Linked DNA regions of Homo sapiens: regions 1, 2 and 4 are each linked to region 3. Evidence: promoter capture Hi-C in 16 types of primary human blood cells and fetal thymus (Javierre and others, 2016). All regions are on one chromosome and are shown on one strand. The core of a region is centred on a gene start or on the middle of the fragment in contact, and the rest is flanking DNA. Distances in the headings are between cores, read along the strand shown. Region 1 overlaps SP100 (SP100 nuclear antigen). Region 2 overlaps SP140L (SP140 nuclear body protein like). Region 3 holds the start of SP140 (SP140 nuclear body protein). Region 4 overlaps SP140L (SP140 nuclear body protein like).

Region 1 (7,303 bases), core at 4,105-6,604, 240 kb after region 3:
CAAAAAATATAAAAATTAGCCAGACAAGGTGACACATGTCTGTAGTCCCAGCAACTTAGGAAGCTGAGGCAGGAGCATCGTTTGAGCCTGGGATGCGGAAGTTGCAGTGAGCCAAGATTCCGCCACTGCACTCCAGCTTGGGCAACAGAGCAAGACTCTGTCTCAAAAAAGAAAAAAAAAAGGAAAAAATAAATAAAAAATAAAAAAGAGAGGAAGGCATGGGAGAGGAGTTAAAAAAAAAATCAGAGAGCCAAGATATTCACAAGAGGAGATGGGGAGGGAAACACATCAAGACAAAGAGAGGTATAAAGAGACACCATCGCTGGAAACAGAGGCAGAAGCAGGGGAGATGGCAGAACAAAGAGGAAAGATGAGAAGTAAAATGAGAGTGAAAGAAAAAAATAGAATGAGGGTTGGGGTAAGAACAGTGTCAGTGGATGGGCACAACTGCCTTCTGTGTGTCAATTTTATCAGCTTTTGGTTAAGAACTTGGAACAAACTGCAGGTGGCATGCATTCAAGGAACACCCCAGGGTCTTGAGTTAACTTAGCTTCCTGGGTCTTCCTAGTGCTCTCATTGTGGAATTTCCTGGTGCATGGACTCCTTGGTCACACCCTGAGACTCTTAATGGTTTTTGCTCCTTTGTGCAGTCATCAGCAGTGAGGACTCTGAAGGATCCACTGACGTTGATGAGCCCTTAGAAGTCTTCATCTCAGCACCGAGAAGTGAGCCTGGTAAGGAAGTTTGGGAGAGCAAGGCTTGGGCTGTGGGAATCTGATTTAAGAGCTACTATTTCCTGAGGCATTTTATTCTGAGCTCATTCTGTACAATGGATCCAGTTTATCCTGGGATCCCATTCTTTGCATTAATTTTACTTGACCTTTTTGGAAAATGCAGGGAGACAAGAAATTGTTATAAACTTATTTTTGAGAATTAGCCTTCTTTCTTGATGGATTCTATTAATCAATATTCATACCCATACATTGATTATATAGTAGGAATAGGCTAGCCAAGTGATGAGTTTGTTTTTAAAACTAACTAGTTGCTATGCCTATATAGTGTTAGATTTATATAGTGATTTTTATAGAGAACAGAAAACTAAATATTCCTTTATGGGAAGATGTTATTGTCATCTGATCACAAACTTTGAATAGGGTCAAAAGACATCTCATCCAACTATCTGGTGTTGGCAAAAACAAACACCTGAGATAAAGTATTCTGAAACTTGAAGTATTGTTTCTGATAGAGTTCTTCAGCAAGTCATGGCACATTTAGTGATTTTTTGAAAGACTTTTGCAAATTGTCTTATTTTTAAATTTACAATAACCTTAAAGGGGTAAACAGAAGAGAGATTCTCGTCCTTGTTTCCTAGATGAGAGAACACAATTGCATAAATGTTTCAAAGTCATCTCCAAAATCTCATGGTAAATTAAAGGAAAGACAAGACTAGCATCCTGGATTCTGAGTTACTTCCTTTGTGAAATGAAAGAGAGAAACATTATTAAAATCTTGTATTATCTCAATCCTATTTGCAGCATGAGTTGTCATAAGATTTATAACATAAATACTTATCATAACATAAGTATGCAAATTGGTTGATTTGTTTTGCCCTTTACTTTCTAGATCCAGAGGATATTAGAAATATGCCACTTTAGGGAAAATACACTAGGGAAAGACCTAAGAGCAAAGAAGAACCTCATCTTGATGTTATAAAATAACAATGTAATAATACATTCATTCTAATTGCTCACTGTATCTTTCAAAGTAAAATGTAAATTTGCATTAGTTTTTAGACAATATGTACTCTAACTTTGAACTTAGTGTAAGCAATCTGCTGTAAAAAATAGTCCCAAAATATGTCTTTGGCTCAAATACATGAGGAGATTATTTCTCAGCCTTGTAAACAATTCAGCAAGGCACTGGGTTGGTGGGAGGTAGAAAAAGCTCACGAATTTAACAGAAGATCTTCAAGGTCCCCCTGCATGAAAAATAGAAGCAGAAACAAAGGAAATGTGGAATGGCAAGCAGAAGGGATAAGAAGTAAAAGAAGCGTGGGAAAGCAAAGGCCAAGCAAGGCAAATATTCCCTCTGGGGACAAGAATGGAGTATCACTAACCCACAATGAAGGTTAGTTGAAAGGCAAGACAAGCATGGCCTGTGTACAGGCGAGGACTTGCACGGATTTTCAAGGTTTTCCAGGTTTTCTTATTAGGGAATTTCCTACTGAACTGATTCCTTGGTCACACACTGAGACCTCTAAAGAATCCCATTCTTTTGTGCAGTGATCAATAATGACAACCCTTTAGAATCAAATGATGAAAAGGAGGGCCAAGAAGCCACTTGCTCACGACCCCAGATTGTACCAGGTAAGAATATTAGAGTTGCAACCCGAGACTGTAGAATATCCAGAGTACAAATCCAGAGCTCTGTTTTCTTGATTAATTTCATTCTGAGTGGTCTCCTTATGCCTTGATTCCATAAATTCTAGAATATCACTTTCTACATTTAACCTCTCTGGCCCTGTTGAGAAATGGAAGACATTAGGAAGGTGTTATAAACTCTTGTTTAACTGGATTGGTTCAATCGATTGATACATTGAAAATGTAGCAAAAATATGCTAGTAAAATAACAGTCTTTTTAACAACAAACTATCAAGAGTTATTATTTCAAGAGTTGAAATAATGTACTTATTCTCTACTACTACCCTTTATATTTGATAGAGCATGATAAGCACAGTCTTCCTTTGTTCATTGATAATTATTGTCTTAATCACAAGCTCAGAAAGTCTTCAAAGAATACTTTGTGCTGCTATTTAATTATTAATGGCAAAAAAAAAGTGACTTCAACTACACCCAAACCCAAATTATAGTTCACTTATTGGCTTACATTGTGATTTTTCACAGGGCTTTTGAAAATGAACCTTCATTTCCCCATCACAAAAACCTTAACAGGGAGGTAGGGTAACTAGTTTATCCCTGCTTTATATGTGAGAAAATGGGAGCTAGTGGTGTTTAAGAGTCATTTATGACCAGGCGCAGTGGCTCACACCTATAATCCCAGCACTTTGGGAGGCTAAGGCAGGTAGGTGGCTTGAGCTCAGGAGTTGAGATCAGCCTGGACAACATGGAGAAACTCCACCTCTACCAAAAATACAAAAATTAGCCAGGCATGGGCCGGGTGCAGTGGCTTACTCCTGTAATCCCAGCACTTTGGGAGGCGGGGGCAGGCAGATGATGAGATTAGGAGTTCGAGACCATCCTGGCCAATATGGTGAAACCCTGTCTCTACTAAAAATACAAAAATTAGCCAGGCATGGTGGCGCTTGCCTATAGTCCCAGCCACTCGGGAGGCTGAGGCCAAAGAATCACTTGAACCCAGGAGAGGGATGTTGCAGTGAGCCAAGATCATACCACTGCACTCCAGCCTGGGTGACAGAGCAAGACTCCATCTCAAAAAAAAAAATTAGCCAGGAATGGTAGTGTGTGTGCACCTGTGATCCAGCTACTCGGGAGGCTGAGGTGAGAGAGTCACTGGAACCTGGGAAGTTGAGGCTGCAGTGAGTTACGATTGTGCCACTGCACTCTAGCCTGGGTGACAGAGTGAGACCCTGTCTCAAAAAAAATAAGTAAAAAAGAACGAGATCATGTATTTTGAGAGAACGTAAATGGAGCTGGAGGCTATTATCCTTAGCAAAGTAACGCAGAAACAGAAAACCAAATACCATATGTTCTCACTTGTAAGTGGGATCTTAATAATAAGAACTTATGAACACAAAGAAGGAAACAGCAGATGCTGGGGTCTACTTGAGGATGGAGGGTTGGAGGAGGGAGAGGAGAAGAAAAGATAACTATTGAGTACTGGGCTTAATACCTGGGTGATGAAATCATCTGTACAACAAACTCCTGTGACACACATTTACCCATGTGACAAACCTTCACATATACCCCCAAACCTAAAATAGAAGTTGAAAAAATTAATTAAAAAGAGGCATTTCCAAATAATACACACAGAGGATTATGGAGAGAGCTGGGCAGGATCCCAACATTATGACCCTGAACCTCCAGAACTGGATTCACTAGAAGGAGAGAGAGAAAAACGCTCATCAAAACTTTGTTATTGGCAGGGCACGATGGCTCAGGTCTGTAATCCCAGCATTTTGGGAGGCTGAGGCAGGTGGATCACCTGAGGTCAGGAGTTCGAGACCAGTCTGACCAACACAGTGAAACCCCGTCTTTACTAAAAATACAAAAATTAGCCGGGCTTGGTGGTGCACAACTATAATCCCAGCTACTCAGGAGGCTGAGGCAGGAGAATCACTGGAACCTGGGAGGCAGAAGCTACAGTGTACCAAGATTGCACCACTGCACTCCAGCCTGGGTGATAGAACAAGACTCCATCTCAAAAAAAAAAAAAAAAAAACTTTGTTATTAACCCAAGCCCATTTGCCATGTCAGTTGTCATAGAATTTATAAGTCTCTTGCATACAAATAACGGGTTTCTCCCTTTTACTTTACAGAGCCCATGGATTTCAGAAAATTATCTACATTCAGAGAAAGTTTTAAGAAAAGAGGTAAGAGAAAGCTTTAGGAAAAGAGGTAAGAGAAAATAACTTCTCTTCATGGTTATAAATGAACAATATTTTCTACAAAAGAGTCAGTCTAATTCCTTGCTATATCCTTCAAAGTAAAATATAAATTTGCTTTAAATTTCAATGGTTCCTATTTTAGCCTTTGTATTAGGGAGGTTGGCTAACTGCTATAACATATGAACCCAAAGAAGTCAATGACCCCAACACAACAGAAGGTTTTTTATTTTTTTAGTAGAAGTTTGTATTTTTTTCAACTGAATATTTCAAGGATTTTTAGATGAGGGAAAGGTTGGGCTCTGTTTCAAGCAGTTCTTCAGGGAAGCAGGCAAGTAGAAGATCTGCCTTCTCCCATCCTAGACTTTCATGGTTGCCCTGAGAGAGAAGCAAATTTACAAATAAATACAAATCCATATACAAAAACCACAACAAAACCATAAAGGGACAAGTAAAGAAAGAAAGATAATGTGGTGTAAGAAGACAGAGGGCCAAGACAAAGCAGAGATGCCCACTGGGGCTAAAATTTTCTCAGCCTCAGGCTCAGGTGACAGTGAGGGATAAAATACTAACCTTGAGCCACACAAATCTGAATGAAAAGGCAGATCATGGAGGTTTGAGGCACGGACATTCTTGCCCTGAAGTTTCAGAGCATCACAAATTTTCCTAGTTTCCTTTTCATAGAATATTATTCTGACTTGGTTCCCTTATCATACATTGAGAGCTCCAAAGGACATTTGCTCCTTTCTGCAGTGATAGGACAAGACCACGACTTTTCAGAATCCAGTGAGGAGGAGGCGCCCGCAGAAGCCTCGAGCGGGGCACTGAGAAGCAAGCATGGTGAGAAGGGTAAGAACAGCTCCCTTGACTTCAGGGCTCTGACTTCAGAGCACCTCTTCCCTGATGCACTGTGCTCTGAGCACACACAACAGCTATCCAGGAGCCAGTTCTCTGCATCTACCTCATCTGGCCATTTTGAAAAATGCAAAGAAAGAAGTCACTCTAAATTCAGGCTTAACAAGATGGTTGTGGTTGAGTGGCAGTGGCCTGTTTACTACATACTGCCTGTATTAGTCCATTTTCATGTTGCTGATAAAGACATACCTGAGACTGGGTAATTTACAAAAGAAAGAGGTGTAATGGACTTACAGTTCCACATGGCTGGGGAGGCCTCACAATCATGGCAGAAGGTGAAAGGCACGTCTCACATGGTGGCAGACAAGAGAAGAGAGCTTCTGCTGGGAAACTCCCCCTTATATAACCATTCAGATCTTGTAAGACTTATTCACTATCACAAGAACAGCACAGGAAAGATCTCTCCCCATGATTCAATTACGTGCCACCAGGCCCCTCCCACAACACATGGGAATTCAAGATGAGATTTGGGTGAGGACACAGCCAAACCATATCACTGCCAGACCTATTAACTCCAAAGTATTGGATTTATGTAGTGATTTCTACTTCTGCTCATTCTCTGTTTTGTAAAGAAAAGAAAGTACACTAGTCTGTTATTGCCTGATTTTGTCACCAACTTGTTCAAAATTCCAAAGCTTCTGGTCATACTCTCTAGTTATTGACAGAAAGAAAGCCTCCTGTTTCTTACCATCAGATTCAATTCATAGCTTTTGACAGATGGCCCCCAACATGAAATTGGCCAAATAGTGATATTTGAAAATATATTTACAAATAAGATCTACTTGCATCTTTACAACAACCTAAAAGGTGGGTGAGATAACTATTGTTCCCCCCATTTGACAGATGGGGAAACTAAGGCACACTTAAGGATCTTTTTTCTTTGCACATCACATATGGAAAGTTATAGGAGGAGACAAGACTAACAACCCAAACTCTTAATAAACATTCATAATCCTCTATAAAACCTTCAAAGCCAGATGTACTTCAAAGTTCAAAAAATGTTTTATTATTTTAGAAAGACAATGTGGTTTATATTCTATATACAACAAAATACCCTAGTAGGATCCAGGGAAGAATCCCATTCTCAAATATACTAATGTTTATACAGCAAATTATATAAATATTCACACCAAATATGATAAGATTTTACACGGACTCATGGCAACTCAAGTCCAGATTCACTGCCAAATTAGTTAGCTGCAAACCTATGAAAACAATACTGGTTATTAAAATATCTTTGAGGCCAGGTGTGGTGGCTCACGCCTATAATCCCAACACTTTGGGAGGCTGAGGGGCTGAGGCAGGTGGATCTTTTGAGCCCAGGAGTTCAAGACCAGCCTAGGCAACATGGCAAAACCCCATTTCTACCAAAAAATGCAAAAAATTAGCTGGGCATGGTGGTGGTGCATGCCTGTAGTCCCAGTGATGTGGGAGGCTGAGGTGGAAGGATCATTTGAGCCTGGAAGGTCAAGACTGCAGTGAGCCAAGATTGCACCACTGCCCTCCAGCTTGGCTGACAGAGTGAGACCCTGTCTCAAAAAAAAAAAAAAAAAAAAAAAAGTCATTGATTTTGCAATTAGGGCTAAAGGATTGTGGGTCTGTGCTCCATTTGATAGTAATCTCTTTCCCTTAGATGGGAAGAGACAGAAATGATCCTCATAGAATATTTATAGTCCAAATTCTGTCAACAGTGTAAGCAGTCATAAGATTTATAGATCTTTTAGTTAGATATTATTGATTTGGTTTTCCTTTACTTTCTAGCTCCTATGACTTCTAGAAGTACATCTACTTGGAGAATACCCAGCA
Region 2 (7,430 bases), core at 216-2,715, 140 kb after region 3:
TTCCTTCTCTAGCTGTATTTTCAGACAACCTGTCTGAGTTCAAATTCTTTCCTCTACATGATTAATTCTGATATTGATGCTCTTTGTTGCATTTTTTCATTTTATTCATTGTATTTTTCAGCTCCAGAATTTCTGTTTCTTTTTAAAAATAATTTCAATCTCTGTTAAATTTCTCATTTTGGTCATTTATTGTCTTCCTGATTTCAGTGAATTGTTTCTTGGTATATTCTTGAAGTTTGCTGAGATTCCTTAAAACAATCATTGTAAATTCTTTGTGAAGCAGTTTGTTATCTTCATTGCTTTGGGGTGAGCTATGAGGAGATTATTGTGTCTTTTTGATGGTGTTATGTCTCTTTGGCTTTTCACATTTCTTATTACCTTGCATTTATATCTGTGCATTTAAGGAAGTAAGGACTTATTTCAGCCTCTGTAGATTGGCTTTGTCTGGGAAAGCCTTTCACCCTACTTAGAAATTCTAGGAATTACATCTTGCATAGACCAAAGAAAGGCTTGCTGCTGAAGGTGCCTAGGATAATCAGTGGGCAGGTCTATGCTGGGGCAGGCCTTGAGCCAGAGTCTGCAGGGATCTACACCACTGGTGCAGCCATCTTCAGGCACTTCAGTGAGCCTGAAGACCAGTGCATGAGAGGCAGCTTGGTACTGGGATGAGACTGAAGGCCAGAGCCACTGGTAGTAGTCTGGGTTCACTGAGGCTGAAGTAGTGCTGGGGCAGGCTGAAGACTGCATCTGTAAGGGCTGGCCTGGAGCCTGGGGATTCAGGATTCAGCCTGGGTTCAGTGTGAGCTTGGAGGTTCAGACCATGTGTACCAGCTGGAGTATCTACAAATAAGGAAACTGCTGATTTTATATAGAGTTTTAGGAAACATAGTTCAGGCACTACAGACTTTCAGAAACAGGAGTGTATGAATAGTTTAGCATTTAGCCATCAACACGGGCTTTCTGGAGGGGGCTGCGGCTGATTGGCTGGCCTTCAGATGTGTAGGACTGCCACTGATGGGCTAGCTCTCAGAAATGATTAGTGATATAAGTAATCAATGGCCAATTAGGACAAGTTGAAACAGTTACTTCTTACTACTTTCTTTTTGTTTGTTTGTTTTCTTGTTTTTGAGACTGAGTCTCTCTCTCTGTCACCCAGACTGGAGTGCAGTGGCACAATCTTGGCTCACTCACTGCAGCCTCTGCCTCCTGGGTTCAAGTGATTCTCCTGCCTCAGCCTCCCAAGTAGCTGGGATTACAGGCGCACGCCACCACACCCAGCTAATTTTTGTATTTTTAGTAGAGACAGAGTTTCACCCTGTTGGCCAGGCTGGTCTTGAATTCCTGACTTAGTGATTTGCCCACCTCAGCCTCCCAAAGTGCTGGGATTACAGGCATGAGCCACCGCACCCTGCCACTTCTTACTGTTTTCAAAGAACATTAGTATTTTCTGGAATGATAAGAGCTTTTTAATTTTTTCTATTTTACTCTCAGGACTACAAGTAGAAAAATAAAAGTAAAGAAAAGGAGAAGGAGGTGCAAAACATGGGGAGAGCATGGCTGTTATGTGTCAGGCGTGATTATTGGAGCGGGTATATTTTTTTCCAGAGAGCACTTCACCTTGGCTCAGAATATTAGTGTCCAGCATCACAGCACTGGGAACTCTTCTCTGGTCACTGTCTAGAGGTCACCCGAGGAATGTGTGTGACCTCTAGAAGCTGAAAAGACAAGGAAATAGGTTGTCCTCTCCAGACCCCAGAAAGGAATAAAGGCCTACTAACATAATGACTTTAGGCAGTGAGACCTGTGTCACACTTCTCACTGACATAACTGGAAGATAATAAAATACAAAAATAAAAATAAAATAACTTTTTTGTTTCTCATTAGTATCTGGTGAACTAGAAAATTACCAAATGACCAAAGAAGGAGAATCAGAAGAGCTTGCTTCTAGCTTGCTATGATGTGATGTACCAAGTAATTATGACTTAAAAATATTAAAAACAGAAACAGAGTTCTGATAATGAAAAAAAGACAAAAGAGGACAAAAAGGGAGACTTAAAGGAAGAGTCAAATATAGGGAGGAGAAGTGAAAGAAGATTTCGGAGGAAAAAGTAGAGAAGAGGGCAGCAACCAGGGTGCAGAAAAGAGGGTTATTGGGGCAAATTAAAAGTTCATAAATCACAATTTTGCCCCGGGAGCAGAGCGACCAGCATGTGAAAATGAGAAGTGTTCCTATGTCATGTGTTTCTCAGGAGAAGTGCCAGAAAGCCCGGAAGCAAGGAAGGAAAGTGACCAAGCATGTGGCAAAATGGGTAAGGCTGCCTGAGGGCTGTGGGATGGGGTGGCTCAGTGGGCCCCACAGACCCTGGGAAGAGTGGAGGCAGGTGCTCCAGTCCGCCCAGAATCCTGTTCTGTGCATTTGCCTCACCCAAGCCTTTGGGGAACTGCAGAGAGGCAAGAGATCATTATAAAGTTTTACTTATCAAGATGGGCTCTGTTGATTACATATGGATGACGTCATAGAATGGTGCTGCTCTTTAAAGTGGCAGTTATCCTGTTTATTGCATTAATATGTTAAGTCACACTCAATATTCCATGGAACCCAAGATAACCCAGTGAACTTCTGCTAGTAGATAATAGTGTCATTTTGCTACACCTTAGAAAGGCCTCACCCAAAAGACAACTAATCCTGGTATTAATTGTCAGGGGGGAAGACTGCAGGTCTACTCTTAGCCCAACACGTATTTTTGATAGAAGACCCAGGGCCCATCCTAGACTCCTAGTTCTCAGTTCAGTGGGTTTTTGGTTCCTCTAGAAGAAAGAGAGAAATGAGTAACCAAACATCTTTATAAACTCAAGCCTTCTATAGTATGAATTGTCCTAAAATCTATAACTTTTATTTATTAATTTCTGTTTCCTCACTACCACTTGTTATTTTCTAGATACTGTGGATATTGCAAACAACTCTACTTTGGGAAAACCCAAGAGGAAAAGAAGTAAGAATAAATAAGAATTTACTTGCTTTTGATGTTACAAATACATTTTTAATGCCAGAGTTTTCTTTTTGTCATTGTTACTGTTTCTGTTATTATTTGCAATACTGTGGTAGAGAGAATGATGGCCACCCCAAAAAACGTCCACCTCCTAATCCCTGGACCTGTAATCTGCTATCTTACATGGCAAACGGGACTTTACAGATACAATTAATTTAGAGACCTTGAAATGGGGAGATGATCCTGGGTTATGTGGTGGGCCCAATCTAATCTTGTAGGCTTTAAAGAGTGGAGAACTTTTCCTGGCTGTGGAGAAAGGAAAATGTGACTATGGAAGAGTCATCAGAAACATGTAATGTTGCAGGCTTTGAAGATGGAAGAGGGAACCAAGGAATGTGGATGACCTCTAGAAGCTGAAAAAACAAGGAAATAGTTTGTCCTTTCCAGCCCCCAGAAAGGAATGAAGGCCTACACCTTGACTTTAGGCAGTAAGACCCGTGTCACACTTCTCACTGACATAACTGGAAGATAATATATTTGTGTTGTTTTAAACCACTAAATTTGTGGTAATTTGTTATGGCAGCAATTAAGAGTAATACGGATTTTAGTACTTGGCAGTGGGGTGTGGCTATCACATATTCCTGAAAGTGTTGGGGTGTCTTTGAGATTGCGCAGTGGAAAGAGGTTGGAAGAATTTTAAATAGAGTGATAGGAAAATCCTAGATGAAAAAATGGAAATTAAGTCAATTAATAACCCTACAATGGCCTGTAAGTGCTCAAGTTAAAGAAAGAGTCGGCCGGGCGCGGTGGCTCACGCCTGTAATCCTAGCACTTTGGGAGGCCGAGACGGGCGGATCACGAGGTCAGGAGATCGAGACCATCTTGGCTAACACGGTGAAACCCCGTTTCTACTAAAAATACAAAAAATTAGCCGGGCGTGTTGGCGGGCACCTGTAGTCCCAGCTGCTTGGGAGGCTGAGGCAGGAGAATGGCATGAACCTGGGAGGCGGAGCTTGCAGTGAGCCAGGATCGCGCCACTGCACTCCAACCTGGGAGACACAGCGAGACTCCGTCTCAAAAAAAAAAAAAAAAAAAAAAAGAAAGAGTCACATGTACTCACTTTAAATAAAAATCTAGAAATGATGAAGTTTAGTGAGGAAGCTATGTCAAAAGTTGACATAGGCTGAAAATTAGGCCTTTTGCAGAAAATAATTGGCCAAGTTATGAATGCAAAGGAAAAGTTCTTGAAGGAAATTAAAAGTGCTACTCCAGTGAACACTTTAATGATAAAGCAGAACAGTCTTATTGCTGATGTGGAGAAAGTTTGAGTGGTCTGGATGAAAGATCAAATCAGCCACAACATTCCCTTAAGCCAAAGCCTAATCCAGAGTAAGGTCTTAACTCTCTTCACTTCTCTGAAGGCTGTGAGATGTAGAAAGCTTCATAAGAAAAGTCTGAAGGTAACACCAGTTGGTTCATGAGGTTGAAGGAAAGAAGCTGTTTCATAACATTAAAGGGCAAGGTGAAGCAGCAAATGCTGATGTAGAAGCTACAGCAGGTTGTCCAGAAGCTCTAGCTTAGGTCACTGATAGAGTTGGCAACACTAAACAACAGATTTACAGTGTAGACTAAACAGCCTTCCATTGAAAGAAGATTCTGTCTAGAACTGTCATAGGTAGAGAGGAGAAGTCAATGCCTGGATTCAAAGCTCCATAGGACAGGAGGAGTCTCTTGTTAGAGGCTAATGGAGCAGGTGACTTTCTCTTGAAGCCAATGCTCATTTACCATTCTGAAAGTCCTAGGGCCCTTAAGAATTATTCTAAATCTACTCTGCCTGTGCTCTATAATTGGAATAAAGCCCAGATGAGAGCACATCTGTTTACAGCATGGTTTACTGAATATTTTAAACCCACCATTGAGACATATTCCTCAGAAAAAAAGACTCTTTTCAAAATATCACTGTTCATTGACAGTGCACGTAGTCATACAGGAGCTCTGATGGAGGTATACAAGGTGATTAATGCTATTTCCATGCCTGCTAACACAACATCCATTCAGCAAGCCCATGAGTCAAAGAGTAATTTCAACTAGCAAGTCTTAATATTTAAGAAATACATGTTGTAATGCTATAGCTGTCTTTATATATAGTGATTCCTCTGATGAATCTGGGCAAAGTCAATTGGAAACCTTCTGGAAAGGATTCACCATTTCACATTGCGATTAAGAACATTCATGATTCATGAGAGGAGGTCAAAATATCAACATTAGCAGGAATTTGGAAGAAGTTGATTACAACCCTTATTGATGACTTTGATGGGTTTAAGACTTCAGTGGAGGAAGTCACTGTAGATGTGATGGAAATATCAAGAAAACTAGAATTAGAAGTGGAGGTTGCAGTGGTTCCCACCTGTAATCCCAGCACTTTGGGAGGCCAAGGCGGGCAGATCACCTGACATCAGAAGTTCAAGACCAGCCTGGCCAATATGGTGAAACCCTGTCTCTACTAAAAATACAAAAATTAGCTGGGCGTGGTGGCTTGTGCTTGTAGTCCCAGTTAGTTAGGAGGCTGAGGCAGGAGAATCGCTTGAACCCGGGAGGCAGAGGTTGCACTGAGCAGAGGTTGCACCACTGCACTCCAGCCTGGGCAATAGAGTAAGACTCCATCTCAAAAAAAAAAAAAAAGATGTGGAGCCTGATGATGTGACTGAATCGCTGTGATCTCATGATAAAACTGAGTGATAAGGAGTTGTTTATTATGGATGATTAAAGAAAGTGGTTTCTTGAGATGGAATCTGCTCCTGGGAAAGATGCTGTGAACATTGTTGAAATGACAACAAAGGATTTAGAATATATTAGTTGATAAAGCAGCAGCAGGTTTTGAGAGAATCTACTGTGGTAAAATGCTATCAATAGCTTTACATGTTACAGAGAAATCTTTCATGAAGTCCATCAACACAGCAAACTTCTTTACTGTCTTATTTTAAGAAATTGTCACAGCCACCTCAACATTTATCAACCACCACCATGATCAGTCAGCAGCCATCCACACCCAGGCAAGACCCTTTACCAGCAAAGAAATTATGATTTTCTGAAGGCTCAAATGATTGTGAGCATTTTTTGAGCTATAAAGTATTTTTAATTAAGGTATGCCCATTGATTTTTTAAGACATAATGCTATTGAATACTTAATAGACTACAGTATAGTATAAACATAATTTTCATATGCACTGGGAAACCAAAAAAATTGTGTCTTGCTTTATTGCAATATTCACTTCATTGCAGTGTTCTGAAACCAAACGTGCAATATTTCTAAGATATACCTATATGTTTTATCCCAAAGATGTTTGAAATTTTTATCTGATCAAATCTGTCAGTCTTTTCATTTATGGTTTCCAGGTTTTGTGTACAATTTACAAATATATTATCCTCCTCATAATTTGAAAACATTTTTACTTGCTTGTAGAATATTTGAAATACTTTTTAATGTTTAAATCTATAACACACATAGAATTCATTTATTGGTGTATGATGTGAGATGATAATTAAGAGATATAACCCCAATACTTTTTTCTTCTTGATTTGAAACATGATTTTATATATATTTTCCAATATACACAGATCTGTGTCTTATCACATTTCTTTATCCATTCATCTGTTGATGGAGACTTAGGTTGTTTCTATGTCTTAACTACTGTGAATTATGCTGCAATGAACATGGGGGTGCAGATATCTCTTTGGTTTCATTTCCTTTGGATACATACCCCCAAATTAGATTTCTGAATGGCATGTTTTTCTATTTTTAATTTTTGGAGAAACCTCCATACTCTTTTCTGTAATGGCTGTACCAATTTACATTCCCACTTACAGCATACAGGGGTTCCTTTTCTCCACACCCTCACCTATACTTGTTATCTCTTGCCTTTTTGATAATAGCTATCCTAATAGGTGTGAGGTGATATTTCATTATAGTTTTGAGTTACATTTCTCTCATGGATGGTTAGTGATATTGAGTGCTTTTTTATAACCCATTGGCTATTTATATGTCTTCTTTGGGAAAAAGTTTATTCAGATCCTTTGCCCATTTTTAAATTAGGTTATGACATGATTTTGTTTTGTTTTTTGCTATTGAGTTATGTGAGTTCCTTATATATTCTGGGCAATAACCCTTATCAAATACATGGTTTGCAAATATTTTCTCCTATTCCATAGGTTGCCTTTTCATTTTTAAAATTATTTCCTTTGCTGTACAAATCTTTTAGTTTGATGCAGTTCCACTTGCTTATTTCTGCGTTTGTTGCCTGTGTTTCTGGTGTCTTATCTAAAAGATAATTGCCCAGACCAAAATCGAGGAGTTTTTCCCTGTTTTCTTCTTTGAATTTTATGGTTTCATGTTTGACATTTAAGCCTTTAATCTATTTGGAGTTAATTGTTGTATATGAT
Region 3 (7,187 bases), core at 3,133-5,632:
GTTCCCCTACCAGGACATCCACAAACTCCTCAGATAAAAGATGGGAGACATGGATCTAAAGTTTAAGAAGCTTTGAAACCAAGGCTAACTGCATAAGAGCAAGCCCTTCTATGCAGGCACAAACAGCATATCCCACCCTAGTATGTACAGAATAGCAGACCCGGCCTTGCGGGTAATGGCTGTGGGTGAAACAGAGGCATGGAAGCCACAGCCAGGAAAAATTCAATGCTAACAGCTGAGGAGAGGGTGCATTGATGCCTCAGCATGCAGTAACATACAGCGCTGTGATGCAGGGGATGGCGGTGGTAAAGGAATTAAGGTTATTTTATGCAAATGTCACATGTCACTTACCTGAAGCCCCTCCCCATCACCTGGAAAGCCCCTTCATGGGCATCTGAGGATCCTGGCAGCAAGAACTTCTTCCTTTAGATCTATTCAGAGATACACCAGGCAAATGCAAAACAAACAAACAAAAGTAAAGCAGGAGTGGGAAAATAAAGTCAATGTCAAATCAGGCAAAAATTGTTACATGAAAAAAAGACAGCTGCGAATGAGGATGAAAGATGTTTATTCTAAGCCATATATGCTTGGCTGGGCACAGTGGCTCAGGCCTGTAGCTTAGCTAGCACTTTGGGAGGCTGAGGCAGGCAGATCACTTGAGGCCAGGAATTCAAGACCAGCCTTGCCAACATGGCAAAATCCCGTCTCTACTAAAAACACAAAAAAATTAGCTGGGCGTGGTGGCACATGCCTGTAATCCGAGCTACTCGGGAGGCTGAGGCATGAGAATCGCTTGAACTCAGGAGCTGGAGGTTGCAGTGAGCTGAGACTGCGCCACAGCAGTTCAGCCTGAGCAACAGAGTGAGATCCCGCCTCAAAAAAAAAAAAAAAAAAATGCATGCTTGAGAACATGGTAATAATGGGAAAACGTCACCTGTTAATTCACATGCTAGTGATTATGTACTGAGATAAATTATACATAATTCTTTTTAGCTCCATTTTATTGAGGTATAAAATTTATTCATTGTAATGTACATTTTACCAAATGTAGTTACTACACCAGTCAAGATGTAGACCATTTCTAGGCCTGGAGAGTCGCTTGTGCCTATAATCCCAGCATTCTGGGAGGTCAAAGCAGGAGGATCGCTTGAGCCCAGGTGTTTGAGACCAGCCTGGACAACAGAGCAAGACCTCGTCTCTACAAAAATACATTTTTTTAAATTAATTGGGCATGTTGGCATACACCTGTGGTCCCCGCTATCAGGGAGACAGAAGTGGGAGAATTGCTTGAGCCCAGGAGGTCCAGTCTCTGGTGAGCAGTGACAGAGTGAGACCCTGTCTCAAAAAAAAAAAAAAAGATACAGACCATTTCTGTTACCCTAGAAAGTTCCCTGTGACCTTTGCAAACAATCCCCTCCTTAAGGCCAGCACCAGGCAACCACTGATCTGCTTTCTATCACCACAGATTAGTTTCGTGTGTATTAAAGTTTTTTTTTTTTTTTTTTTTATCAATGAAGGCACATGGAATGCATTTTTGGTGTATGGCTTTCTTTTCCTCATCATCATGCTTTTGAGATTCATCTCTGTTGTTGTGGGTCAGTAATTTATTCTTCTTTAGCAGGTATGCTAGCCACCAAGATCCTGCTCATCCTGTCTGATCAGCATGATGTCATCAATCAGTCTGACTTTTTTTTTTTTTTTTGAGACAGAGTCACGGTCTGTCTCCAGGCTAGAGTGCTGTGGCGCAATCTTGGCTCACTGCAACCTCCGCCTCCCAGGTTCAAGTGATTCTCTTTCCTCAGCCTCCTGAGTAGCTGGGACTACAGGCACGCATCACCATACCTGGCTAATTTTTGTATTTTTAGTAGAGATGGGGTTTCACCATGTTGGCCAGGATGGTCTTGATCTCCTGACCTCGTGATCTGCCTGCCTCAGCCTCCCGAAGTGCTGGGGTTATAGGCATGAGCCACCATGCCCAGCCCAGTCTGACATTCTATGGGATGTCCAGGTGATCCAGATATCTTTCAACTATATTATGACAAAGGGCAAGTGAGTCAATATAACCTGCCTGGACTGCCTACTTTCTTAACCTAGTCCTCTGGCTTTCCCATACATTCTGTGAGCTACCCAATATAGTTCTAAGAAATTGACTTTTTGCCTGAGTTAGCCAGAGTCAGTTTGGATTACTTTTACTCCCAAATCCTGACTGATAAAAATGTTGGGCACCAGAGGTTGAATTATAGGCAAGAGATATTCAAGGAAATATGATCAATCTGGGATTGGTTATCTGACATAATTGGACATAAAAACAGTGAACATCCCCATTAGCGTTCAGAGTCAGGAATTTTGGAGTTGTGGGCAAATAGGGGTAAGTTGGCAAATTAAATTACAGCACTGGATTGTGATCAAGACTCTATACAATTCATTTCCCCAATTCCAGGTGTCAGATTCTAGCATGCTTAGCAAAATGAAGAGAAATCTTCCAGGTAGAATGAAAGCATTGATTTACCTTTGGGGATTATGACCTACTTGGCCTAAATCTGGATGGGGGAACAGAGCCAGGAGGCAGGCCGGAGCCTTCTGACTCCACTGGTCACGTGGCAGTAAAGGAAGACATTGGGAACCAGAGATGGTCTGATGGTCCTACATATGCCTGGCCCAGGAATCCCTTACCCAGGAGAGGTTCTGTAGTGAGCATAGGGAAAAACAAGATAGTGGGAAATAGAACTGAAATTTCAGGCTATCCTTACCTGGGCTAATGCATGGTGTTGCAAAGTAGGGCTTTCTAGTAGTAGCAGCAGTACCCCTGAAGTACCAATCTTACCACCAGTCAGCTGAGGAACACCAATGGCCTTGTGCTTATAAGCAAAAGAAGCTGGCACATTTTCAAAAATGTCCAGTTCATTGGTGTCCTGGGTCTGCCTACTGCCTAAGGGCAGAGAGAAGAGAGAGAGGGGATGCTGGAGCAGGCGGTATAGTCTGTACCAGGCCTTGTTGGAGCCCCATGGAGACTGGGAGGAGAGGACAGCTGTGTCTAACAGAAGCCCAGCATACTTTTCCTTCTTGTTTTAAAGAGGGAGGGAGAGGGAGGGAGAGAGAGGGAGAGGGAGGGAGAGGGAGGGAGAGAGAGGGAGAGAGAGGGAGACAGAGGAGAGAGAGGACAGAGAGAGAGAGAGAGAGGAGAGAGAGAGAGATACTGGAAAAGGTGTCCTCATCAGTGTTCTAGAGTTTGTCTCAACCAGATTGGTGTTTGTTCCTTTGGTAGAAAGAAAGCAGAAGTGTGGAAGGGGTAGAAATTTCTTGCACTCTGTATTTTGCAAACTTATGTATGCAAATTTCCTTGCATATGTGTAATGAACCAGAAAAAGTAGGATTCAGGAGCACATGTTTTGGAAAAATACTGCTTTGCCTCTGGCTTTTCAATCCTCACTACTGTTCTGTCACTGGCCCTGGATTCTACCCATACCCTGGCTCTCATCAGCCCCCTGTCTTTGACCCATTTTTCTGCCTGGATTTCTAGTCCTGTGGTTATATTTTTTATATTTGCCCTTTGCTTCCATTTGTTTATCACTCGACTTTATGCTGATATAGTGTGTTTTTGTAAATTGTTTCAAATCCTTTACAGAATGAGGGCTGGGTATAAATGAAAAATTGTGTGCAAACATAAATGTAATACAGCTATCCTCCTGTATCATATTGTCCTTGAAGGTCTAGATAATCTCAGCTCCAAACCCTTTCCCCATCCAGTGAGAAGGCTGTCACTCTCCTCAAGATTTCAGTGAAATGGTTGAAGCTCATTTTTTTCCCAGTCACCCCTGGCTGCTGTTGTAAAGTGCCCACATATTTGAGAAAACTTAGAATTGCACCTCATTTCTCTGCCCAACCTCAGCACTTGCCTTTGGCTGGAGGAGTTGAGAGAGTTGTCTTTTACCTCTGTCTGCTTTCATGGAGTGCTAAGAGCATCTCCCCCACTTTCTAATGCATGCTATTTCAGTTCTCCCTGGCCCCATGTCCAAACACTGGGCCTAAGCCATCCAGCCCAGGCTCACTAAGGTGCATGGCCAGCCCTGGAGCCTGACTGAAGATTTGAAATGTCTGGTCTTCACTTGTCCTTCTCAGCCACCTCAGCAAGGGGTGGGGACAAATACAGAGTTTACTTCCTCCTCATGATGCCACCTTACCTCAAAACAACTTTGATCTGCTTGAGTTGAATGACTTTTCCACCCTCTTTCCTTGGCAGGAACAAGTGACCCTGTCTTCCGTGGCCTCGTGGGGCTGGCTCTGCTCCTCCTCCCTTGACTGAGAGACGTCATGGAGATTGGGTGGAGGGAGGACTGTAGAGTTGGTGCACCCACGTCAGCTAGTTAGGCAATTTCACTTTTCTTTTCCTCTTTGACTGAGCACCGAGGGGCAGTTGGCAGCTTCACCTCAGAGCTGCAGGAAGGAACGGGGCAGTGAAAATCGAATCGGGTGTGATCCTAGGCCAAGCTCATGGCCCAGCAGGGCCAGCAGGGGCAGATGGCAAGTGGAGACAGCAATCTCAACTTCAGGTGGGTCATCGTCTCCTTTCCCGTCTGTCCTTCATCTCTGGTAGGGTTCCCTTTCATACTTGTTATTTAATGTCTACCCAGCTTCACTCTACAGGTATACAATAGAATTCAGTTACAAATAAATAACGAGGCAATCAGATTTTTTAAATTGCAGGGATTGGCTGTTGGAGAAACTCAAGGATGCCGTGACTCACATCATCTTCCTATTCTCTTACATCTGCAAATGGCTGGACTGGAGCTGTTTGAACATCATGCCTGTTCTGAGGCTTTGTGTAGGATTGGATGATTCCCCGTGACCTCTGAACCCTCTCTTCTCCCCCAGGCCTCCTTTATCCCCACTCCAAAAGACAACTCTGTCTAAAAAGGATCTTTTTAGAAGAATTAAAATCCAAACGCCTGTCTGTTGTCACACTTTCCAGGCTGTGTAGTTGGGGACCGGTTCTGCTCTGAGCCCATCTATGTGGCTCTTAGCCCTAGAATCACTTCAGGATCTCTGAATACTTGGTAGGAGGAAGTGAAAGCAGATGAGACCCAACAAAAAAGGCAAGCAGGTAGAGAGTGAGTGCTGCTTCTGCTTTTTTTATTCTTCTGTTCTGGTATTTTTTACATATCTGGTCAGAGAAGCCTGGAAATCATCTTTAAAAAATGTAAGACAATGAGACCAGTCTGACCAACGTGGAGAAACCCTGTCTTTACTAAAAATACAAAATTAGCTGGGTGTCATGGTGTATGCCTGTAATTCCAGCTACTCAGGAGGCTGAGGCAGGATAATCGCTTGAACCAGGGAGGCAGAGGTTTTGGCGAGCCAAGATCACACCATTACACTTTAGCCTGGGCAACAAGAGTGAAATTCCATCTCAAAAAAAAAAAAAAAAAAAGACAAGTACATCAATACGGTCATTTCTTCTTATCTGTGGATTCTGTATCCATGGATCTAACCAACCATGAATGCAAAATATTTTCTAAAAATTAAAAACATAAATAACAACAATAAAAAGTAATATAAAAATTTAAAATACAGTATAACTATTTGTATAGCATTTACATTGTATTAGGTATTATAAGTCTAGAGATGATTTAAAATATACAGGAGGATGTGCATAGGTTATATGTAAATACTACACCTTTTATATCAGGGACTTGAGCATCCATGGATTTTGGTATCCATGGAGGGTCCTGGAACCAATTCCCCCTGGATACCAAGGGATGACTGTACATTCTTGATAAAAATGAAAATGTGTGGAATGTAAAAATGTATGGAAACTTGTCTAATTGGGACTCTGTGCTAAGGCTACTTCTGGCGCTGGTACAGCCCCAAGAAAGCAAAAGCTATTGCTATTATCAGCAGTAGTGGTGGCACCAGACTGGTTTTCAGTGCCCAGTGCCACCACTCCCAGACAGGCATCCCTGTCATCTCTCTTTCACTTGCTCTCTAGTGAAGGGAAGATGAGCCAGCGGAGCTCAAAGTCCAGCCAGCCCATGGTCACCAAGCAGGAAGAAGACGGCACTGAGAGGTGACAATGGGCTAATGCTAACCTCAAAGAATGAGTTAGGAAGTGTTGCCTCTGCTCTTATTTTTGGAGGAAATTGGGGAGGATGATGTCATTTCTTCCTTAAATATCTGGTAGGATTAGCTAGTGATACCATCTGGGCCTAGTACTTTCCTTTCTGGAGGGCTATTAATTATCGATTCAAATTTCTTTAATAGATGTAGGCCTATTCAGACAACCTATCTCTTGTGCAAGTTTTGGTTAGTTTGCCTCTTAAAGAATTTGTTCATTTCATCTGTGACCAAATTTGTAGGTGTAGAGTCCATAGTTTTCCTTTATTACCTTTCCATTGTCCATGGAATTCGTAGTGATGACCCTTCTTTCATTCTGATGATTTCCGTCTTCTCTATTTTTTTCTTTGTTAGGCTGGCTAGAGGTTTATTAATTAACTCTTTGAAAAGAAAATCAGCTTTTGGTTTCATTAAGTTTCTCGAATGTTTTCCTGTTTCAATTTTTTTAACTTCCACTTTAATTTTAATTTTTTTTCCTGCTTGCATCAGGCTTAAATTGCTCCTTTTTTCTCTAGTTTCCTCAGATGAAAGCTTAGATTATTGACTTAGATCTTTCTTCTTTTCTATTGTATGCATTTAATACTATACATTTCCTTCTAAGTGCTGCTTTTGTTGCATCCCATTCATTTTAATAAGTTGTTTTCCTTTTCATTTACTTCAAAATATTTTTAAAATTCTTTTAGGACTTCTTATTTGACCCTAGAACTCTTTTGGTTAATCTGGAAATATTTTGGAATTTTCCAGCTATTTTTCTGTTACTGATTTCTAGTTTATGGTCTGAGAACAAACTTTTAGGATTTCTATTCTTTTAAATTTGTTAAGGTATGTTTTATGGCCCAAAATGAAGTACATCTTGGCAAATATTCTATGTGAGCTTAAAAAGTACATGCATTCTGCTATTGTTAAATGGAGTACCGTATAAGTGTCAGTTAGACCAAGCTGATTGCTATTGCTCATCAGGTCAACTACACCCTTACTGATTTTTCTGCCTGTGTGATATGTCAATTAATAAAAAAGAAGTGTTGAAGCCTTCAATAATAGTAGTGAATTTGTCTATTTCTCTTTATAGTTCTATC
Region 4 (7,327 bases), core at 4,612-7,111, 160 kb after region 3:
CTCCTGGCTGTCTGTAAGCCTTGGGGTTCCCAGTTCTGTTCGTTGTGTCCAGTCCTTGATTTGTTTGTGTGTGTGGCTGGGGAGAGGTGGGCATGTGAGGGGACTGCTTGAGGACAGTCTGTCCAATCTATCCTCTTTGTCCATGACACCAACCAGGTAACAGTCACCCCCCCACCCACCCCAACAAATGACTGAGAACAGGGGTAGGGACAATGTCTAGAGGGTTCTATGTGGGACCTCAGAAGCTGGGCCCAGCCCCTGCCGTCTCATGCCTGGTGCGGAGAGGCTGACTCAGCATTCTCAGAGGTGGGAGCACTGGAGCAGGGTGTTTTCCTTCTGGACAAAGGATCCAGGGTAGTTCTGAGAGACAGATATCACCAATGCTCCTGCTTCCTCCATACCTCCTAGGGTTGGAGGTGTTCCTGCCTTAGATCTCTGGATTTTTGCTCTTGCTTCACTGCTGCAAAATCTGTCTGTACCATTCTGGTGGCTGTACCTTCATCTTTTTCTCCTAATTGTCTCTTTTCTCACTTAGATCTTCCATCCACAAAATTAGATACAAGTAGAGCAAAAGCATTTTCATTAGCTGTGTCTGGAGTGAAATCTGAATCCCCTGGGCACTCAGAAGGCTGTGCCTACCAGGCTGATGGGGAAAGAATGAGGCATCATCCCTAGGAATGACCAGGGTCACAACAGAATCCTGAATTTTCAAGATAGGTCTACAGAACACTTGCAATCCCCACCACTTTTGTCCTGGTCACTATCCGGGAAGGAGATGATCCCTTTCTGGGGACTGCTCCCTTCAGTGAGCCTACTGCCCTCCCATAGTGTGCAGACAGGAGGAGATGAGGGACGTCAGAAAATCAGTGCATTGTGGAGTCACTTTTCTGATAAAGGGCACATCAGACTGCAAATGGTCCAGACAGCCAGATTCAGGACACTGATGAGTTTCTGGGGTCACCATAGCATCCCTGGAGTCAGCTGCTCTGCAGCCTGAAGGAGGGCTGACAGTGTGGAGTCACTGCTATTACTTAATGAAATTATATAGAAATTCTATAATGATTATGTAATTGCATAATGAAAACTCTCCATATCAGAGTTCAGAATATCTCCCAATTTCCAGTACAGAATATTATCCATAACACCATCAACCTCAAGGAGGATGTCCTCTCATTGCACATGTGAATTTACACAACAAACACTTGAAAAAGCAACATGAAATAGCAGTTATCATTCACTTTAAGGTGCCAGCAAGAGTTAATTTTCCATTAAAAATGTTGTTTCAAAGGAAGGTCATCTCTTATAGTCTCTCCCAAGCCCATGGCCCAAGGCTCATGCAGAATTAAAATAGGACTCTGTACTCAACTTCCACACTGCTACACTGATCATAAAGAATTTTGCCCCATTCCTGTGGACCAAAGTATGAAAAAATCTTGTATACTACTAGCATATAAAGCTCAAATAATTATATTTATTCCTCTGTATAATTAACTTTATTCTCTTTGGTTTGAAGGAAAAAAGAAGGGGCATGGCTGGAGCAGAATGGGAACGAGAACGCAGAAAAACAACCAACAAAATGGTAAGCAGGCAAAGTGAAGTAGTTACAGCTTTTGAGTTTATTAAGGCGCTGTCCATTGTATTCTGGAAGGCCTGCAGTTCACGAGGGCCAGGAGAGTTCTGTACTTCCTGTATCCGTTAGGATGTAGACCAACAGGCTGTGACAAAGAGGCCTGAGAATGCAATGGCTTCAACAAAATGGTTTCTAATGCATGTAATAGTCCAGAGGCCCACAGTTAATAGGGAGGTCTTATCATCCTCAGTATGACTTTCTTCAGTAGCTCAAGAAATTTTTATTAATTTGGAAAAATGTTCTTAAGAGGGTTAAGTGAAGAAAGCAAGGTGTATGTGTATGTGTGTGCAACTGTAAAATATATATATACATATATATAACCATATTTTATGTGAAATATTTATACTTGTGAAAGTATGTTTTTATGTATCTATCAATCCTTACATAGATATATGCAATTATTTATCTGTGTGTATGAAGAGATATAAAGCTATAGAAAAATCAGTGGCTGTTCATTTATAAAGATATATGCAGTGGTTACATTTAGTCAGTATAATAGAGGTGATGTTTATATTTTTATTTGTGGTATTTAAGTATATGTGTTGTATTAAAATTTTAAAAATCTTCAACTTTTATAATGAAAAAATGGTCTTTAAAAGGCAACATATGCAAAAAGAAAAGCCTAGGAGAATATTTGTTAACAAATCACCATCTGGAGACAGCCATCCTCATCTGTGGCTATCTCTAGATGATGATGTTTTAGACCATTTTATTTTCTGAATTTTCCATAATTATATATGTTATTTATTTTAGTCATGGTCTAAGGATTTCCTTTCTCCTAGTCAATGAAGGCTGTCTTATTTTCCAAATGATGCTCAGTTTTGAATCAGTGGATCTGTATAGTAAGATTTTAGAGTCCTATTGAAAATTGTTTCTTTTCACCAATCATCTATCTTCTGCTCTTCTGTTCTTGCCAGTTTAAGTGTCTGCCCGGCTTGTGGATGTACATTTGTGTTTGGAAAGAAAAACAAGTGGTTGCATTTATTTTAAGAATGGGTGTTTTTGGCCGGGCATGGTGGCTCATGCCTGTAACCCCAACACTTTGGGAGGCTGAGGCGGATGGATCACTTGAGGTTGGAGTTCGAGAACAGCCTGGTCAACATAGTGAAACCCTGTCTCTACTTAAAATACAAAATTTCGCTGGATGTGGTGGCGGGCGCCTATAATCCCAGCTACTCGGGAGGCTGAGGCAGGAGAATCACTTGAACCCAAAAGGCAGAGGTTGCAGCAAGTCAAAATTGTGCCACTGCACTCCAGTCTGGGAGGCAGAGAAACACTCTGTCTTTAAAAAACAAAACAAACAAACAAAAAACAAGAATGGGTGTTTTCAAATTAAAAAATTATTTGGACTGAGTCATTATAACATTTTCATTTAAGTCTGTGTGTATTATCCTAACACATTCTAAGAGACTTCAATGTACGGTTAAATTCTGTGTGTAATTTAGAAGTCAACACTCCCCAAAGCAGAAAATGCTCTGGACACCTGCTCGAGGGGATCCAGAGTGAAACCCAGGACTCCCTCACTTGCGTTTGGTCCAGCCTGTGAGCTGTTGTTCTGCCCAGTTCTATTAATACATTTTCCCTTGCCTATCCCCAGATAACAGCAAAGCCGATGGCCAGCTGGTCTCGAGTGAAAAGAAGGCGAACATGAATCTGAAAGACCTTTCCAAGATTAGGGGTAAGATAAAGTTGGTACCACTTTTCATTTGCCCTGCAGGTCAATGCACATGTTGAGGTTTTGAGGAGCCTAGAAGCTTTATTGTTTACTAGTCAAACTTAGTCAATTTCAGAGCAGTGAAATCTAAAAAACAGCAAACCCATTAGAAGCCAGAGTTGTAAGTTGATTGTATTCATATCATAGATCTTATCTGTCCAAGTTCTAAAGTTGTTTTCCTCTGTGTTTTATCTGATTTTCCTGGGAATTCCTTTGCCTTAAATCATTGGCTAATTAAAATGGCTGGACCTGGTAAATTGTAAGCAGAATACAGGTTTATTTTCCCACTGCCCTTTGAAGTCCTCCTCCTAGATAAGTTATTTCTTGTCCTGAGCAAGCCCTATCGCTTTCCTGTTCCCTTTTCACAACAATAAGAGTCTCATTTCAGTAATTGAGAGTCTTTCTGACCAAGTATTAAAACTCCAATGTCCTCCCCAGTTTAAAGCACCTTCCCTCCTTCAGCCTGGGCAAGCCTTAGTCTGGAACACATATAGTTGGGGGGTGACATGGCCAGTGTCTTCTCTTATTCTGTCTTGGCCCTACCCCCACTCCATAGCTGTTGGCTTGGTCCCATCCAGGATTGGGGAGGTGAGAGAAAGGGGTGAGATCAGAGTGTGGAAGTGTCTTGCCTGACAGGTGCAGCCGTGAAATGACATTGCAAGTGGTTGATGCACAATCACTAGCTCTTTCTTCCGTGAGATGCTTTCATCAAGTCCACTGCAAGGGAAGGGGAGGGGTCAGGCATCACAGCTTGACTTATTTTGAAAGAAATAGAGCTTTTCTTCTACAACCTGGGTGTGAGTGAAGGGCTGAACCTGGCATAATCAGTTCCACCAACTCTTTCTATGGTCCCATAGGTGGACTGGTGCATTGTCCTAGGATGCGGGTGCTTGGAACTTGGGTAATCAACTCAACCTACTTGCTTGGGACTTTCTCAATTTTGCCAGTGAAACTCTCATGTCCTGGGCACCCCCTTAGTCCTGGACAGACCAGGACAATTGGTCATTCTACTTGGTACTTATTGGATTGTTCCCAACCATTGGGACTTGAAGTGAAATTTTGAGAAAACAGGAGGAAATTGAAAACTCTGTCACACTTCTTTCTAGAGGTTAATACCAACCATAACAATTATTTTAAAACAACTTTAAATTATATTCTGACCACCATAGTATTTATTAAGGTTTATGTTAGGGTTTCAGTATTGTTAAATGGGTATTACAGCCTGAGACACAATAATATTTGAATCCTGCCTTGCTCAGCCACTTGATTCTGAGAGTAAAACACAGTAGTGCTGTATTATGAATTTGCTGGATTTAAGCTCCAGTTTGTTCTGTACCAAAACCTCCATAGACTAGAGTAGACTTCATGTTGTTTCTTTTTTCTCCCTAAAAATATGAGGCCTAAACAGATTTAATGAAAGCTAAATCCGACATACCCACTAGTCCCAGAAAAGATGTAACCAGACAGAAACAGCTAGAGAGAAAGGAAGAAATAACTCTGTATTAGCTGGACTGTTCAAGGTTGTGGCCAGAGCTCTAGTGCCAAGCCTGGCTGGAATATAGGAGGGAAAAGAGCAGCAAGGATATGACATCTGGATCTATTCTCACTGTACGGTGAGTGCGGACCCTCAGGAGAGGAGGGAGGGGTGAAGCATTGAAGAGGAGAGACCTGGAGATGTCCTGGACTTCCAGAGTCCACTTGGCATCTTGCGTGGGAGAGGAGGGGAGGAGAGCTTCTCAGAGAGCCACACCTGTGTGGCTGATGTTCTATTGCCTGGAAACCTCATCTTCCAGAGGCAGGCAGCAAGATGGAGCAAAAAGATTAACATGCGTCTTGGAGAACCACAGTTCCACCTCTTTAGTAGTTTTTCTTAGCCCTTGGCTGTTACTATACAAGCCTCCTACCTCCCTATACAAGTTTATTAAACTCTTCTAAAGCTCTTCTTTGAGTGCCTGTTATCTTGGTTAAATATTAACAGGATGACAACTTGCAAATTTGAAACTTGTTTGATCTTGGGATAAGATGTCTGTAATTATCAATATTGGTTCCTTGGGCCATTTGGGTCTTAAATGGGTAAAAACCTGGTCAGTAACTGTGTAGTCTAAAGACCAGAAAGTGGAATTATATTACCAAGCCATAGGTCTACTTTGGGTCCGATTGGTCCTTTCTACTTTGCTGGCCTAATATGCTCATAATATGCTTAGAGTTTAGAGCACTTAGGAATAAGTAGGTTGGAAAATATTTTTCCATGGGGCCTACATGACCCTGACCAGCATCCCTAGATGGTGGTCATTGGATGGTGGACATCCAGCACAAGGAGGAAGGAACATTTTGCTTTCCTGCTTTGGAAAATAAAACACATTTGAACATTAGTAAACATTGAGATGCCCACTCACAGCCAATTAACATGCACTTGGGAGAACGTCGTCGGCTGCAGTGTCTGCCATGTCAATCCTTAATTACTATTTGGAATGAAGGCTGTGGAAGTCTCAATTCTACCCATTCCTCATGGTTAACCTTCTTCTGATTAGTTTCTTAGATCCTAATATTTATTTTTTCCAAAGCCATGTGAACGAAGCCCTGGTCACATTTACTATTACTTTCAGCACAAGGGTACAAATATCTTCCCCCAATGTGATATGTGCAGCATACATCTCACCTATGGAGCACCTAATAGGGTTTCCCTTAACTCACAGAACTGCCATTTATTTGTGTCTCTGCTAAGAGAAACCCAAACACCTTCACTTAATTTTGTAGTTTTGTCTCAATTTTCTCTGAATATTTTAGTCTCTGTAATGACAGTAATCATCATTTTGATCTTGCAAAGATTAAATTAGTGGATGTGTGTTTAACATATATTATATGCCATATATATATTTCAAATATATATTTGAAATGAAATATGAAATGAAACTTCAAAATATGAAATGAACCTTCAAAATATGGAATGAAGTATTTATACTGTTGTTTGAGTTATATGTGAAATACTGATTTCAATTAGTTTTTTTCTAATGTAAGAATAGGAAAATGAAATATAAAGTGAACCTAACATTAGCTATCTAATTCTTCATACCTTAAAGGCTAGGGTTTAAATCTTTTTATTTATATATTAAACAGGCTTTTGGAAAGTTACATTTAAATGGAATTTTTGAAAAGCAGCAATATATGTAACACAGCTGCTCATTTGTAACTGTGATTTTATTATTCTACTTTCTCAGGGAGAAAGAGAGGCAAACCTGGAACCCACTTTACTCAGAGTGACAGAGCTCCACAGAAAAGAGTCCGATCAAGAGGTAAAAAAGAAAAGAGGAATGCACTTTCAATAACTAAACATCTAATTTCCTGTGCTTTATGCTGTATTTTCAGTAATAAACCTATTTCTTTAATTGTTTTATGAAGCTATACTAACTATTGAAAAACATATCTTATTAAGTCATTTTCCAAAATGTATCAAGGAAAGAAGGAAGTAAGTTGGTGATGGATCTACAACCAGACCCTGGGGCCCCAGGGGGTCACTAAAGTGCTACTTCCACTGAAATGATAAATTTCAAGGCTGAAGATAGGCCATTGCTGTATAAAGGGTATAACCCGTAAGTGATTTAGCTGATCTTCCTCTGGCTACACAGAAAGCCACATGTTGCACACTAAGGTTGAACCAGAGTTGTGGTTAGAGATCTGTGTCCTAAGGCTTTTTGGCTTTTTAAAAAATCTTTGACTGTGTGATCTTGTGCTGACCACTTGGCCTTCTTTGCCTTGGTTTCCTCATCTGAGAAGCTAGAGGATGAATTAGGCCAACCACCCTTCTTATTAGTCCATCCCAGTCTAAATAGTGTGCCCTTTTCAAAACCAGTCTCAGGACCAAAGACCGCTTCCCCTGCCCATCATGGCCTCTACACCTCTGTTTGGAAGGGCAGGATTAGCTGCTCATCCTCCTGGAGTTTTTCTTTGAAAAACTTTCACACCTACTTCTGTAGTATCCGGTT

The links. The method cuts DNA at HindIII sites, captures the fragments that hold promoters and counts their contacts. A CHiCAGO score of 5 or more calls a contact.
Region 1: a fragment that was not itself captured here is called in contact with the fragment with the promoter of SP140 in region 3 in 7 of 17 cell types (non-activated CD4 T cells, naive CD4 T cells, total CD8 T cells and 4 more); the score reaches 8.9 in non-activated CD4 T cells.
Region 2: a fragment that was not itself captured here is called in contact with the fragment with the promoter of SP140 in region 3 in 5 of 17 cell types (total CD4 T cells, naive CD8 T cells, naive CD4 T cells and 2 more); the score reaches 6.9 in total CD4 T cells.
Region 4: a fragment that was not itself captured here is called in contact with the fragment with the promoter of SP140 in region 3 in 5 of 17 cell types (total CD4 T cells, non-activated CD4 T cells, naive CD4 T cells and 2 more); the score reaches 9.6 in total CD4 T cells.

What each region holds. Positions count from the first base shown.
Region 1 is chr2:230,461,785-230,469,087 of GRCh38, forward strand. It overlaps SP100 (SP100 nuclear antigen), which reads left to right. Exons shown (of 29, transcript NM_001080391.2): 10 at 651-734; 11 at 2,283-2,366; 12 at 4,517-4,570; 13 at 5,336-5,431; 14 at 7,259-7,303. All of the region lies in intron 3 of LOC101928816 (a long non-coding RNA gene), which reads right to left. Among named protein-coding and RNA genes, the nearest start is that of SP100, 49 kb to the left of the region's middle. The HindIII fragment of the contact is 1,551 bases long and covers 4,580-6,130 here.
Region 2 is chr2:230,368,659-230,376,088 of GRCh38, forward strand. SP140L (SP140 nuclear body protein like) reads left to right here. Exons shown (of 19, transcript NM_138402.6): 6 at 2,250-2,309; 7 at 2,940-2,993. Among named protein-coding and RNA genes, the nearest start is that of SP100, 44 kb to the right of the region's middle. The HindIII fragment of the contact is 5,923 bases long and covers 1-4,427 here.
Region 3 is chr2:230,221,354-230,228,540 of GRCh38, forward strand. SP140 (SP140 nuclear body protein) reads left to right here and starts at 4,383. Exons shown (of 27, transcript NM_007237.5): 1 at 4,383-4,550. The coding sequence starts at 4,492. It also overlaps a transcript of SP110 not described here. RefSeq lists enhancers at 4,263-4,472, 4,703-4,752, 4,823-4,902, 4,923-4,972. The HindIII fragment of the contact is 6,572 bases long and covers 69-6,640 here.
Region 4 is chr2:230,381,997-230,389,323 of GRCh38, forward strand. It overlaps SP140L (SP140 nuclear body protein like), which reads left to right. Exons shown (of 19, transcript NM_138402.6): 8 at 1,514-1,579; 9 at 3,228-3,308; 10 at 6,563-6,637. Among named protein-coding and RNA genes, the nearest start is that of SP100, 31 kb to the right of the region's middle. The HindIII fragment of the contact is 4,959 bases long and covers 3,383-7,327 here.